Linked DNA regions of Homo sapiens: region 2 is linked to region 1. The links are contacts of gene promoters, found by promoter capture Hi-C in blood cells and fetal thymus (Javierre and others, 2016). All regions are on one chromosome and are shown on one strand. The core of a region is centred on a gene start or on the middle of the fragment in contact, and the rest is flanking DNA. Distances in the headings are between cores, read along the strand shown. Region 1 holds the start of RARRES1 (retinoic acid receptor responder 1). Region 2 overlaps RSRC1 (arginine and serine rich coiled-coil 1).

Region 1 (7,200 bases), core at 2,962-5,461:
CTTTATAACCCTAGTGAGCCCTTAGTTTGAAAAACCCTGACTTCATCTCAGCCTCTCATCTTACAAAGGAATGCAGTGACCCCTAGAATTGGGAGGGATACCCATGAACTACACTTCTCTTCCTTACCTGGCTACCTGCTCGCCCCTCAGGGTCAGTTCTGGATGGATGATAGACATTGTGCAGCAGCTGAGCACTCAGTCCAACAATGCACTGGTTGGGTAGAGTGCAAACCTGAGTTTGGAGGGATCAATCGTGGTTTCTTTTTCTTTCTTTTTTTTTTTTTTTTTTGGTTTTTGAGACAGATTCTCGCTCTGTCACCCAGGCTGGAGTGCAGTGGCATGATCTTTGCTCACTGCAACCTCTGCCTCCCGGGTTCAAGTGATTCTCATGCCTCAGCCTCCTGTGTAGCTGGGATTATAGACACGCACCACCATGCCTGGCTAATTTTTGTACTTTTAGTAGAGATGGGGTTTCACCATGTTGGCCAGGCTGGTCTTGAACTCCTGACCTCAAGTGATCTGCTTGCCTCAACCTCCCAAAGTGCTGGGATTACAGGCGAGAGCCACTGCGCCTGGCCCATGTTTTACTTCTCCCCAGTGCTATGACTGCTCTTATAATGGAGGCAGGAATTTCTTATGACTACACTGAAAGCTCCATGTAGGTGTGTCTACACTCTTCACTCAGGCAGTGGAGTGCTTCAAAACTGAGGGAATCTCAAAGAGGCCTTCCCTAATGACCCTATGCTAAATATGAATTAGGCCACACTTCTAGCCCAGTTCCTGGCACAGAGTAAGCATTCAATACATAGCTAATGGATGAACAGACTACCCCTGAACTCACATTTTTATACTTTCTAATTGGCACTCATATCTTATATGACTCCTTAGACCACCTGACATTGTTGGCAGAACATGAATTATTTCCATTCCAAACAGGGAAATAGCCAGAAAAGACTTAAATAACCTTTCCCAAAGCCATTGGACTAAATGATGTTTAAGACCTCTTTAAGATTTATGTAACTTATATAAAATTCCCAGCCCCTGCATCCTCACTGGAGCAATGCAGGGGCTGGGAATTTTTACTTTATTCACTCGGGTTTTGAGAGCTAGTTTGATTATTTTATGAAGGATGTCAAATATCTTATTTTATTTTCAAGGGGGTGACTAAGTGCATGATAATGCAAGTTATTTTATTATTCCTTTATTTATTTATTTATTTATTTGAGACGGAGTCTCGCTCTGTTGCCCAGGCTGGAGTGCAGTGGCACCATCTTGGCTCACTGCAACCTCTGCCTCCCGGGTTCAAGCAATTCTCTATCTCAGCCTCCCGAGTAGCTGGGATTACAGGTGCCTGCCACCATGCCCGGCTAATTTCTTTTTGTATTTTTAGTAGAGAAGGGGTTTCACTATCTTGGCCAGGCTGGTCTTGAACTCCTGACCTTGTAATCTGCCCACCTCGGCCTCCCAAAGTGCTGAGATTACAGGCGTGAGCCACCGCGCCCAGCCTATTATTCCTTTTTAAAATGGTTTGGAAGGGGAAAAAAAATCTCTGGGATTGAAAACTGGTGTACCTTAGAAATCTGAGTGAGCTTGGTTTTCTGCAGGGAATCCTGCCCCTGGTAACCAGGGAGCAAATCCTTAGACGCCCCTTCTTTAGGCTCTGGGCATTGGCTACTACTCTTCTACCTTGATAGAAAGTTCTCAAGGTCCGTTATCTCACTGCTCTGTTGGACTAGGAAAACTGAACTTTTTTGTATCTCAGACAGCAAGGATTGTTAAGACAGGTGACAAGATGGCCCGGCACGGTGGCTCATGCCTGTAATCCCAGCACTTTGGGAGACCCAGGCGGCCAGATCACGAGGTCAGGAGTTCGAGAACAGCCTGCCCAACATGGTGAAACCCTGTCTCTACTAGAAATAGAAAACTTAGCCAGGCGTGGTGGCACGTGCCTGTAATCCCAGCTACTCAGGAGGCTGAGGCAGGAGAATCGCTTGAACCTGGTAGGCGGAGGTTGCAGTAAGCCGAGATCGCAGCGCTGCACTCCAGCCTGGGCAACAGAGCAAGACTCTGTCTCAAAAAAAAAAAAAAAAAAACAAAGACAGGTGACAAGAATAGGTTGCTCCTTCCTTCCTTCCTTCCTTCCTTCCTTCCTTCCTTCCTTCCTTCCTTCCTCTCTCTCTTTCTCTCTCTTTTTTTTCCCCATAGGGTCTCACTCTGTTGCCTAGGCTGGAGGGCAGTGGCACATTCTCTGCTCACTGCAACCTCCAGGTCCTGGGGTCCTGGGCTCAAGCAATCCTCCCATCTCAGCCTCCTGAGTAGCTGGGACCACAGGCCCACGCCACCACATCGGCTAATTTTTTTTTAATTTTTAATTTTTTTTATTTTTGGCAGAGATGGTACTTTGCCATGTTACCCAGACTGGTCTACAACTCCTGAGCTCAAGCGATTTGCCCACCTCGGCCTCCCAAAGTGCTGAGATTACAGGCGTGAGCCACCATGCCCCAGCAGGTTGCCTTTTTCTTTATTATTTTATTTTATTTTATTTATTTTATTTTGAGAGGGAGTTTTGCTCTTGTTACCCAGGCTGGAGTGCAGTGGCGCAATCTCGGCTCACCGCAACCTCCGCCTCCCAAGTTCAAGCGATTCTCCTGCCTCAGCCTCCCAAGTAGCTGGGATTACAGGCATGCGCCACCACACCCAGCTAATTTTGTATTTTTAGTAGAGACAGGGTTTCTCCATGTTGGTCAGGCTGGTCTCGAACTCCCGACCTCAGGTGATCCACCTGTCTCGGCCTCCCAAAGTGCTGGGATTACAGGCGTGAGCCACCGTGCCTGGCCAGGTTGCCTTTTTCTAGGAACAATTTGATTTAATCATTCAATAAATACAGCCGTGCCGGGTACAGGAATAAGTTTTGAAGAACCGAGGCTGAGCTTCTTGAAGGACTTTCCAATGGTGTTTGCTTCCAGGCGTTTGGCACTGTTAAATGAAAATCCTGCTGCTACACTTTAAAACTCGACCTATTTATTAAATACATGCGATACTCAATTCCAGATTCTTTGAGGCCGTGTGTCTGCAGGCTTTGTGGAATATCTGGAGGTTGTAGAAGGAGCAACTTTGCTTTTGGGACAGACTTAGTGTAGTTCTGTAACTTTTGTAATCTATAGGATGAAGAACGCAAAGTAGCTTCACACATACGAGACAATTCCTACAGTCAATGCCTTGAAATCAGCAACCAAACAACGGGTTGCAAAGTTCTCATTCATTCGGTTCATATAGAACACTGGGCTCGGATTCACTCACTTCTAATTAGATCAAATCAGACGCCAGCATTAGCAGGTTTCTGCCCAGGCCTACGTGTAAATTCCAACCACATTACCCCGAAGCCCTAGCGTGGTGGACTGCAATTAACAAGAGACAGTCGTCCGCGGTATGGTATGGCTACTGGCTTAGATTTTGGAAATCCCGCCCAAAACTTTGGCTGCAGCCACTAGTAGGGCGCAGGCACAGTAAGCACCCCCATAGCAACCAACTCTGGGTACCTCCGGACAAAATTAAATGTTGCCCTTTCAGCCTGTTCCTCAATTTCCCAAAGCATCTCTTTCCCAGGTGTGGGAGCAGTCAAGAGCGCTGCCCTGTGAAAAACCTATGACCTCATAAATGCTGGAAGGAACGAGCCAGATTTCTGCAGACGCTGTGCACCGAAGGGGCCCCTTCCACGCCCTGGGATACTTCAGGGGCGCCAGGCCCAGCTGGGATCTCCCCGGGCGTCGTGCGCACTGCACCTTCCCTGGCGGACCATCCGTTGGGCCGGCAGGCGCGCGTACCCAGGTGTCACCTCCCAGCGCCGTGCGCGGACAGGCAGGCGCGTGCCCCGGCGCGTCGCTCCGCACTCACCCACGCGCGGCCCTCCTGCACCTCGGCCAGCACTCGTAGCGCGCTGGGCGAGCCGGACCGGAAGTTGAAGAAGTGAAGCGCCGCGCGCGCCGCCTGCTGCAGGAGCCTGCGCGGGACCCCAGCATCCTGAGGCTGCCCAGGGTCGTCGGGGTCCCCGGACCCCGCGGGCGCCGCCACCGGGGCGAGCAACAGCAGCAGCGCGAGCAGCGGGGCGGTGGGGCGCGGGCCCCTGGGCCCGGACCAGGGAGCAGGCAGCCGTTGCCGGCGGGGCTGCATGGACGCAGGAAAGTTGGCTCGGCACCCGACAGACACGGGCTCGGAGCGGGCAGTGCCGGCGCTCGCGGAAATAAGGCCGTGGTGGGCCCCTCCCCTCCGCCCCCAGGGCGAAGGTCTGTAGCGAGCCCGGGTCCCCATGGGGCCACTCCTTTTCCACGTTTCCCGCAGCCCCTGGGTTCTCTCTGCCCCTCCCCGCTGCCCGGGCTTAGTGCTAGGATGCGGCATCGCCTCCGCAGCGCAGGGCCGGGTGCTTCTGGCCCAGGCCGCGGCGGGAGAGGGTCGGGGTTGGGGGGACAATGGGGACGCCTCCCCGAGGAATCGCGGCCCGCCCGTGCTACCTCGTACCGCGTCCCTAGCCCAGCTCAGGGACTTGGCGTTTCCCCTGCGGTTTCGCAACCCTGGGGTTTTAGAGGGAAACTGCTTGGATTCTCCAAGCATTAGGGCTGTGATTTCCCAGCAGGTGAAAGGGGACGGCGGAGAAAGGGGCAGGCCGCAGCGGGCATTGATGGGGCTCCTCGTGGCACAGCCACTGTGGAGGTGGGAGAAGTCGCCAGAGGGCTGGGGCTGGGGAGGAGGTGAAGGTGGATGCCGGCAGGGAGCCCGGGACGCCGGAGCCAGGGGCTGGGGACGGGCCTGAACACCTGCCGGTCCTGCCCAGAAGAGGCGCCGAGGAGGGAGGAGTGGGCAGCAAGGCAGGGTAAGATAAGGCCTGAGAGTCCCATTTGTCTCAGAAGCAAGTAGGTCATTGATACATTGATAACCACTGTGCGAGGCAGATTTAAAGGCCGGGGATGGAAGTCGGATTCCAGCGGGGTGAGGCATGGATGGGGCTTCAGGGAATGGAGGCAGCAAGTGTTGGCAACTCTTTTTTTTTTTTTTTTTTTTGAGACCATGTCTTGCTCTGTCTCCCAGGCTGGAGTGCAGTGGCACGATCTTGGCTCACTGCAACCTCCGCCTCCCAGGTTCAAGCAATTCTACCTCAGCCTCCCGAGTAGCTGGGACTACAGCCACCATGCCCGGCTAATTTTTGTATTTTTAGTAAAGACGGGGTTTCACCATGTTGGTCAGGCTGGTCTCAAACTCCTGACCTCGTGAGCCGCCCGCCTGGGCCTCCCAAAGTGCTGGGATTACAGGCGTGAGCCACGGTACCCGGCGGCAACTCTTTTTAGACAGGTGGCAGTGAAGGGCTAAGATAGCCATTGTTTTTAAACCGTAGGCAAGAGAAAAAGTCCTGGAGAACCAGGGCTGAGAGAGGAGAACTGGTACTGCTAGGCACTCCCAACATCCATTTCTCCATCCTGCATTTTGTTCAGGGGTCTACCCCTGCACCAAACGTGGACCCCAGTGCCATTGTGGGGCTAAAGGAAATCTCTTTTTGCCAGTGGGTGGTTGAGAGTGGGCATGTGCCAGTTCTGCATGGTGAGCAAAGCCTGTGGGTTGATGGGCGTGGTGCCATCTCTGGAAAGATCCTGTCTTACTGCACTTCTTCCTCTGGCTGTTGTCTGTCCCTTGTCTGTCTTTCCTTCCTTCTGCAGATAATTGTGAAACACCTGTGCCAGGCCCTGGGGGAATGAGGGTGAACAATCTTAAACATCTCTGCCTTCCTGGAGCACACCTTCTAGGCAAGTGGGGCCCGGACACTCAGTGAGGCCAAGGGAATGTGTGCTATATTGGATGAAGTTACATGCCAGGGAGAAAAATTAAGCCAGAAAAAGAAATGGGGAGTTGGGAGGTGGTTAATCTTAAAAGGTGTGGTCAGGGCAGGCCTCTCTCGGGAGGTAATATTTGGGTGAGGACCTGAAGGAGGCAGAGCCAAGTGGACATGTATGCAAAAGCACTGTAGGCAGAGGGAACGCAAGTGCAGAGGCTAGGGCAGGAGCCTATCTGGCATGTTTGAAGAAAAGCAAGAAAATCCAGCTGGAGGGAGAAGCCAAGGGGGAGAGTGCAGGCCCTCGATAGGCCCCAGTTAGGTCTGGCTGTGCTGCCCAGAAGCATGCCTCTGTCTTGCTGGCTGCCTGAGAATGAAGCCCATTTCAAGAGTGGCAGAGCAGAGAGAGGGGAGGGCCCTGGGTTCCTGATGGCATTGTTGAACACAGGAATCAGCGGATCCTGGAGTTTATTTCTTATTATTTCACTTCCCTGAAGCTGGAGTTGCTGTTTCTTGCCCTCAGAGGCAAGCCTAGCACAGGTAATCACCTCCCAGAACCCAGTCATCTCCCCATAGTTTGTTTTGTGCTGCAATAATAGAATACCTGAGACTGGGTAATTTATAAAGAACAGATATCTGTTTCTCACAGTTCTGGAGGTTGGAAGTCCAAGATCCAGGCACCAACAGGCTTGGTGTCTGGTGGGGTCTTAGCTCTGTCTCTGCTTCCAAAATGGGGCTTTGCGTGCTTCATCCTATGAAGGGGAGGAACGCTGTGTCCTCACATGCTGGAAGAGTGAGAGAGTACCCACTCTTATGACCTAAACACCTCACTCTAGGCCCCACCTCCCAACATTCTTGCACTGGGAATTGAGTTTCAACATGAATTTTGGAGGGGACAAAAACACCCAAACTATAGCACCCTCCAAGAGGTTATAGTAGCAGGCTTTTTGAGAATTGATCACTTCCAGGTGATTTTACTTCAGTGCTTTGTTCCCTGTGAGTATGTTAGATTGCTTTCAACTGTATGTAATGGAAAACCCGATTAACAGTGTGGACCATTTATTGGTTTGGAGTGGGAGATCTCAGTGAGTTTCTGAAAGACCCAGGCTCTCTCCATCCTTCTGCACAGCCATCCTCAGCTGGTTGGCTTTTTGTCCATGCACTTGTAGTTTCCTGGTTATAGAATGGCTGCCACAGCTCCAGACAGCACATCTTCACATGCTGCAGCCAAAGGCAGGTAGCAGGGAATAGGTTGCCAGAGTGGAAAGAGAGCTGGACATTGTGCACCTGTTTGTTTTTTGCATCAGGAAGAAATATCTTTTCCAGAACCTCCTGCCTACACCTTTCTTCCCCCCAAGACCTTCCTTTATACCTCCTCAGCC
Region 2 (7,200 bases), core at 3,447-5,946, 190 kb before region 1:
AACCTCTGAGAGCTTCACCTTCTATTATGTGTAAGTACTTCTCAAAGAAATCTTAATGTACTGTGTACGTAAAAACAAGATGAGATTGCTTGGTTTATATGGTAGAATCTTATCTCTGCTACCTGAAGAGGTGGTATCCACATCTTTGATAACTAGAATAATAGCACTGCACATATTTTTAAGGCAGTTTAACATGAAAAGTGTCTCCTAGCTAAGCCCTATCATGCCATGGCTAAGATACGCAGAATGATATGCTCTTACAGTCCCCGTAAGGCAGTATAGACTACCAAAAATCAATGTCTTGAACCTCTTGGATTAGCGTATTTCCCACTTGCACTTGTGCAGAATATTGGGCTTTTTAAATGTTCTCAGTTGTGTAAAGGGTCAGTATAATATCACTTAGGGCCACAAACCATCTAGGCACAGTGTGTTGGAGACATACAAATGTTTGAGACTTGGCAAAAAAAATTGCTGACACCAAAATATGAGAATAAAGCTGCCAAAACAAATTGAATAAATATTTATTTAAATGTCTATAAAAGTTAATATTATCATTAACACTGGCATCATTGTTAGATTTAGTAGTCATAAGCATCTTAACATTTGAAAATAATTTATAGATTTCTCTTACTTTGTAAGAATTCCTAAACATACATGACTGCCCAGATATCTATCCCTCAGATATCTACCCCTTTTGTCCATGAGGGAATAAATCTGTCCTATGAATGCTGATCAGCTTCCATTAGAATAAAAATTAGAGTATTTTAATTGAATAAAACACATGCCTTAAAAAAAAAAAGTGGATCTTGATATCATCATCCCCAAAATAGCTCATAACTTGTCTCCTCTTCACAATCCACAGCCACCATTTAAATCCACATCATCATCTCATTCTTTAACTTTTATAGTAGCCCTCTGGTTGTTCTTCCTGATTTTCCTTTTGCATTTATCTAGTCCAGGACCCATTCAGCAGCCAAAACAATATTTTTCAAGAATAATTAGACTTTACTGACCATCTGACCATTACAGAATAACTGGTACCAAATTTGCCCTCCCACCATAAACAGCTATAGAACTTGACAAGATGTGTAAGACATTGTTTTCAGGAATGTAACAATAGGCAGCTCAGGAGGGTGATCCTTTGGAGAAGGGAAATAAAAGGTGAGCCCCACAGTTACCCAGCTTTCTGTATGAGGGCACTTTCCTGCTGTGGTGCTGGGAAGTGATACCCATGCAGAGTGGTGATGTGGCTGTGTTAAGGAAGAAATACCCCAAGTTCTGGCCTGCAGTGTCTCACTGTCTTTTTGCTCACTATACACCAGCCCCTCTGGCCTTTTTTCTGATCTTCAAAGACACCAAGCCCTTCTCTCTCAGGATCTTTGTCTTTTCCCTCTGGCCAGAGAACCATTCTTCCTTTTCACCTGCCTGGCTCCTTCTAAGTCTTCAGGGCTTAAATTTCACCTCCTAGAGAAGCCATCTCTAGCCACCCAATCTAAAGTAGATGTTTTTCCCTTCCTGATCCCCATCATTCTTTGTCAGCACCTTGTATAGTCCTTTATAGCACATACTACAATTTGTGATTATGCATTATTTTGGAATTTATTTGTTTATAATCTGTCAACTCCATTAGCAACATATAATTGCCACTTGGGACAGGAACCATATCTATTTGATTCTGCCTGTGTACCCAGTGCTTAGCAATTAGTAGTGCTCAATAAATACTGGTTAAATAAATGGATCTCCAACTCTAAAACAAATTAACCTAAGAACAGTTTAATTCATGCATATTTTATCCTCTGTATATTTTTCTTAGTGACATCTGTTTTTGGCTTTGTTCAGAGAAGTGAAATGTTCAGAATTATAGATAAGTTAAAATAAATGGAAATTGAAAAACAATAGGTGTGGAACAAATGGGTATAAAAAAGGCTACATAACAATCTCCTATTCATCTTGTTTTTTTTTAATTTTACTTTTTAATTTCAGCTTCTGATCTAATCCATTTCATATTATCCCTGTAACCTTACTGCTAATCAGTCACTCCTTGGCCTTCTTTCTTAGGGAAGAAGCTACTGAAATGTAACTAAGTAAGCACTACTCTGCTGGCTCCTTCAAGGCAGAAACAATGATTTATTAGTTGTATCCCCAGCACTTGGTACAGTGTATCGCACCTGGTGAATACTCAGTAAAGGTGGAATAAATTGGGAGTCTATGGTTTGCATGATGGTATAAGAAATCCTAGAGTTTTATTTTTTGCCAAAGATACATCGTACCTTTTTTTCAAACTTTTATATATATATTTTAATATTTTAAGTAGCTCCGAGACAACCTTTGAGTTCATCAACTGATGAATGGATAAATAAAATGTGGTAGATCCATACAATGGGACATTATTTAGCAATAAAGAATAATGAAGTACTGATACATGCTGCAACATGGATGAACCTTAAAAACATTATGTGGCTGGGCACGGTGGCTCACGCCTGTAATCCTAGCACTTTGGGAGGCCAAGGCGGGCTGATCACTTGAGGACAGGAGTTCGAGATCACCCTGGCCAACATGGCAAGACACCGTCTCTACTGAAAATACAAAAATTAGCCGAGTGTGCATGGTGGTGTGCACCTGTAATCCCAGATACTCGGGAGGCTGAAGCAGGAGAATCACTTGAACCTAGGAGGTAGAGGTTGCAGTGAGCCAAGATTGTGCCACTGCACTCCCACCTGGGTGACAGAGTAAGACTCTGTCTCAAAAGAAAAAATTATGCTAAATGAAAGAACCAGTCATGAAAGACCACATATTGTATGATTCCTTTTATCTGAAATGTCTAGAATAGGCAAATCCATAGAGAAAGAAGATTAATTGTTACCTAGGATGGAAAGGTTGGAAGGAATGGGGAATGATTGCTAATGGTATGAGGTTTTGTGGGGGATGATGAAAATGTTCTAAAGTTGATTCTGGTAATAATTGCACAACTCCATGGATATGTGAAAAGCCATTGAATTATGTACTTTAAAAGGGTAAATTGTATGGTATATGAATTCTATAACTCAATAAGGCTATTTTTCTAAAGATAACCTTTGAATTTACTTTTCATACCTAAATTGGCCAACTAAATGTTGGATATTTGTTGTAAGCTTGTTTTGATTAATAGAATTTAGATATATGAAATATATGTATATTTCAATAGTATAGGCACGTAAGTACCAATTTCTTAAGAAAAATGTGCTTATCATAAGAAATGATTGACATTTTCTCAGCATTTTTCTATTTGTTATTCCTAAAACAAATACAATATAGTTATTCCTATATTCTATTTCTATATATCTATAACTATATTCCTAAATATAGTTATTCCTAAACAAACAAATATAAAAATAAAATAACTGTATTTCTAAAACAAACAAATACAAAAAGTAGGGCCTTTTTGGAGATGGGTATCATCTCAAAGGAGACTAATTGAACAGTTGTTATTCAAAATCAGAAATATTTTTGAAGTAAAACTCTAATTGTGTATTGTGTTGAAATTAATATGTGTTGTTTCTTTCAGTCAGTGGAACCTAGTGAAGTGAAACAAGCAACTTCAACATCAGGACCAGCATCAGCAGTTGCTGATCCACCCAGTACTGAAAAAGAAATAGATCCTACCAGCATCCCTACTGCTATCAAGTACCAAGATGACAATTCCCTGGCCCATCCAAATGTAATATCCTTAAACTTTACGAATGTCAGTTGAAGTCTAATTTACTGAAATTATTTCAATCTGTTATCCTTTTGTGCTAACACCAAGGAGACCATTGGAGGAAACAGGTTCATATTCCCTTGCTAAAAATAGGCATCTGGCCCCCAGGCCTTTAGAACTGTTATCTATATTTGAATACAGTAGGGTCCAACTCATGTTGCCTAACCTGTAGAAGTATTCTGTCTATGGTTAAGAAAAATAGACAAAGAGAAGCATTTTTTCCTTTTTTTTTTTTTTAGCTGAATTGATCAGCACCATGAGAAGTGTTTGTTTAAAAATCTAGCACTAAAAGTTCCATTTCTGAGCTCTACTTTGTTCATTATCAGTGAGCACATCACTAACATCATACTTTGCTGTCTTCCATGAAATGTTGTAATTCTGCTGTTTTGGAAAAGTTATAGGAAATAAACTTCACAAATATAAGGTACAAAATTGTTAAGCAATGATGTTGATACTAGTAGTTCTTTTACTCCAAGAATTTCTGAGCATTACTAATTCCAAATAGATAGTCATCAATTAAGAGGTCATCAAGAGTTAAACAGTATCCAAATCTTGTGTTGAGAGATATATTCTACAAAGGTGAGTTCTGTCATTTTAGGTCAAATTCAAGTTATTGGGAGACAGTAACATTTTTTCTTTTTCTTTTCTTATTTCAGTTATTTATCGAGAAAGCTGATGCTGAGGAAAAATGGTTCAAGAGATTAATTGCTCTCCGACAAGAAAGACTAATGGGCAGTCCTGTGGCCTAAGTAATATACATATAGTTGGATTGGATTGTCAGCAGTAACATTGGAAATTTAGGTTTTTAAATCCCAATATTAACTTTTTACTCTTAAAAAGAATTTTGCTGATTATATATAAAGGTAGTCTCATTTCATTTGTCTCTCATGTAGGCTTGAATATTTGTTAATTTGAATTAAATCAAACATTGTAAAAATTAAAACAAAATTTAAGATTGCATGAAAATGTTATACTGTTAATAAAGCTAAACATAAATAAGTCTGTTAAAATGAATGGTAGACACTAGTGTTTCTTAGTGCAATTCAAAAAATGTCAAGATGTCATTTAAAGACACAATTTTGATTAATTATGCATACATGAGAATTGAATTACATGCTATAAATATGAGATTTCATCTTCCGTATGGTATTCAACCATTTTTAAATATTTTATTTCACCATATTGCAAATTTTTAGGCACAATAAAAAGCACCCTAAACAATGTAAGCAGAATGTGCATGTTAAAGAACATATTTATGGAAAAAAAATTTTTGAAACTTAAATAAATTGGTGATTTTGCTTAGAGATCAGCTTCTACTAGATGCTCCTTTACAACATGTTAGCAGATCTCAGCTCATTGTTTTAGAAATCACATGTTCATGCTAGACCTAACCAGTTGGCCAAATACCTATGATGGAGAAATCATTTCTGAGAAAACTGATAAGAGCTCTCACTTCAGTCTTACTTACCCCACTGCTATTCCCTGTGGAGAAAGCCGGCTAATTGTTTTGATAAGGCTATCTGCCATTGTAGAATACCTTTCTCTAGTAGCTGAATGACAATCAACTATACGTTCCATACTAAACATGCCAGAGATAGGACTTTTAGGCCTTGCTTTACAAAACTGGTTTTTAACAGCTGACATGAATATTTCCCGTTTCTATTTTCTTTTTTTTTTTTTTTTTTTTTTTTTTGAGACGGAGTCTCGCTCTATCCCCCATGCTGGAGTGCAGTGGCGCGATCTCAGCTCACTGCAAGCTCCGCCTCCCAGGTTCACGCCATTTTCTTGCCTCAGCCTCCCGAGTAGCTGGGACTACAGGCACCCGCTAACATGCCCAGCTAATTTTTTGTGTTTTTAGTAGAGATGGGGTTTCACCATTTTAGCCAGGATGGTCTATTTTCTTCTGTTGTCCAGTCACTAATTTAGTCTCTGCGAAGACTGTAGCTCAGAACAAAAGATAAGCAAAAAAAGTCTTCAGGGTAGGACTGCCAACATATAGGACATTTTAATGCCATCTTCTTTATATTTCTGGGACATTAAAATTCAAATCTCTGTTGAAAATGAAAAATGTAAAACTTAGTTGCAAACAGTATAGAAAATAAGTGATGATGAAATATTTGTTTTCATACAAACATGCTTTCCCATTCTAAATAGATGCTAGTTTTCTTTTTTCCTTGGCTGTAAATAAAAGTGCCCCAAATGAACCGAGATTTGTGTGGTTTTTAACATAGATGTATACAATTTTAGTGACTTAAAAAGGGGTTACAGTTTATGAAATATTTTTATTTCATACTTTGTATAACTTATAAACTATAGAAGTACTATCACCCTATTGGAAAGTATATGTTAGTGGTCTGGGCAAGAATATGGGTTATCATTTGGGCCACTAATGATTCTCCAGAGGACCTGGGCTAGGCAGTTTTCTCAATATCCCTGATCTTCCTTATCTATAAAACAGTGAAAATCTGGTCTACTTCAATTATATTTAATACCAGTGTTCCTCTGTGGCAAGTACCCCAAATACAGAAGCTTGAACTGTGACAGAATTGTTTTTTGGGGTTTTTTTTGGGGGGGAGGGCGGTGGTTTGAGACAGAGTCTTACTCTGTCATCCAGGCTGGAGTGCATTGGTGCGATCTCGGCTCACTGCAAGCTCCGCCTCCCAGGTTCATGCCATTCTCCTGCCTCAGCCTCCTGAGTAGCTGGGACTACAGGCGCCTGCCACCATGCCCAGCTAATTTTTTGTGTGTGTATTTTTAGTAGAGACGGGGTTTCACCGTGTTAGCCCGGATGGTCTCGATCTCTTGACCTCATGATCCACCCACCTCGGCCTCCCAAAGTGCTGGGATTACAGGCATGAGCCACCATGCCTGGCCGAAAATCAAATTTTTTTAATGAACTAAACTATGGTCCCTACAGGAATTCGGTAACTACTTCCTTCCTCCCTAGTTTTCAACATGATTCATTTTTATATATTATTAACTTCGTTTACCTGCATTCCTATCAAAGACCACAATATTACCACACAAGCCAAATCAAATTTAATAAAAAGGACTGCATAGAACATGATCAAACATATTGCCTAATTCAAGCTAGCCTTCTTTAATATCCTTATATGGTGAGTCTATAAAACAGAATAATTCCTTTCATGTCACTTGATTAATGATAATAATTTGGACATACATGAGACCTTAAGTGTTTTACGAAACATTGATTTCTTACAAAATGATGGGTACTGATAATACAGGTTGAGTTTTCATTTCTGACAAGTAAGTATATTCTCAAGGAAAATGAAATAAGAGCATTTTTCCTGGCACTCTCTAGTTATGAGGAGTCAAAGAGCTAAAGATATGAGCACAGAATACTTTGAATCATTCACCTCCTTTGCTTCAGCATCCTAACATGTGAAATGAGGATACTAATTGCAGACCTGCCTACTTTGATTTTTCAGTAAAATGACATAAAA

The links. The method cuts DNA at HindIII sites, captures the fragments that hold promoters and counts their contacts. A CHiCAGO score of 5 or more calls a contact.
Region 2: a fragment that was not itself captured here is called in contact with the fragment with the promoter of RARRES1 in region 1 in 1 of 17 cell types (megakaryocytes); the score reaches 5.0 in megakaryocytes.

What each region holds. Positions count from the first base shown.
Region 1 is chr3:158,728,246-158,735,445 of GRCh38, forward strand. RARRES1 (retinoic acid receptor responder 1) reads right to left here and starts at 4,212. Exons shown (of 6, transcript NM_206963.2): 1 at 3,895-4,212. The coding sequence starts at 4,170. It overlaps LOC100287290 (a long non-coding RNA gene), which reads left to right and starts at 4,116. Exons shown (of 5, transcript NR_171782.1): 1 at 4,116-4,283; 2 at 5,706-5,792. RefSeq lists silencers at 1,123-1,301, 4,027-4,086 and an enhancer at 4,164-4,664. The HindIII fragment of the contact is 14,465 bases long and covers 1-7,200 here.
Region 2 is chr3:158,539,791-158,546,990 of GRCh38, forward strand. It overlaps RSRC1 (arginine and serine rich coiled-coil 1), which reads left to right. Exons shown (of 10, transcript NM_001271838.2): 9 at 3,545-3,697; 10 at 4,393-5,940. The coding sequence ends at 4,485. It overlaps MLF1-DT (MLF1 divergent transcript), which reads right to left. Exons shown (of 5, transcript NR_104147.1): 5 at 5,430-5,787. Among named protein-coding and RNA genes, the nearest start is that of UC.134, 17 kb to the left of the region's middle. RefSeq lists a silencer at 2,570-2,787. The HindIII fragment of the contact is 3,134 bases long and covers 3,130-6,263 here.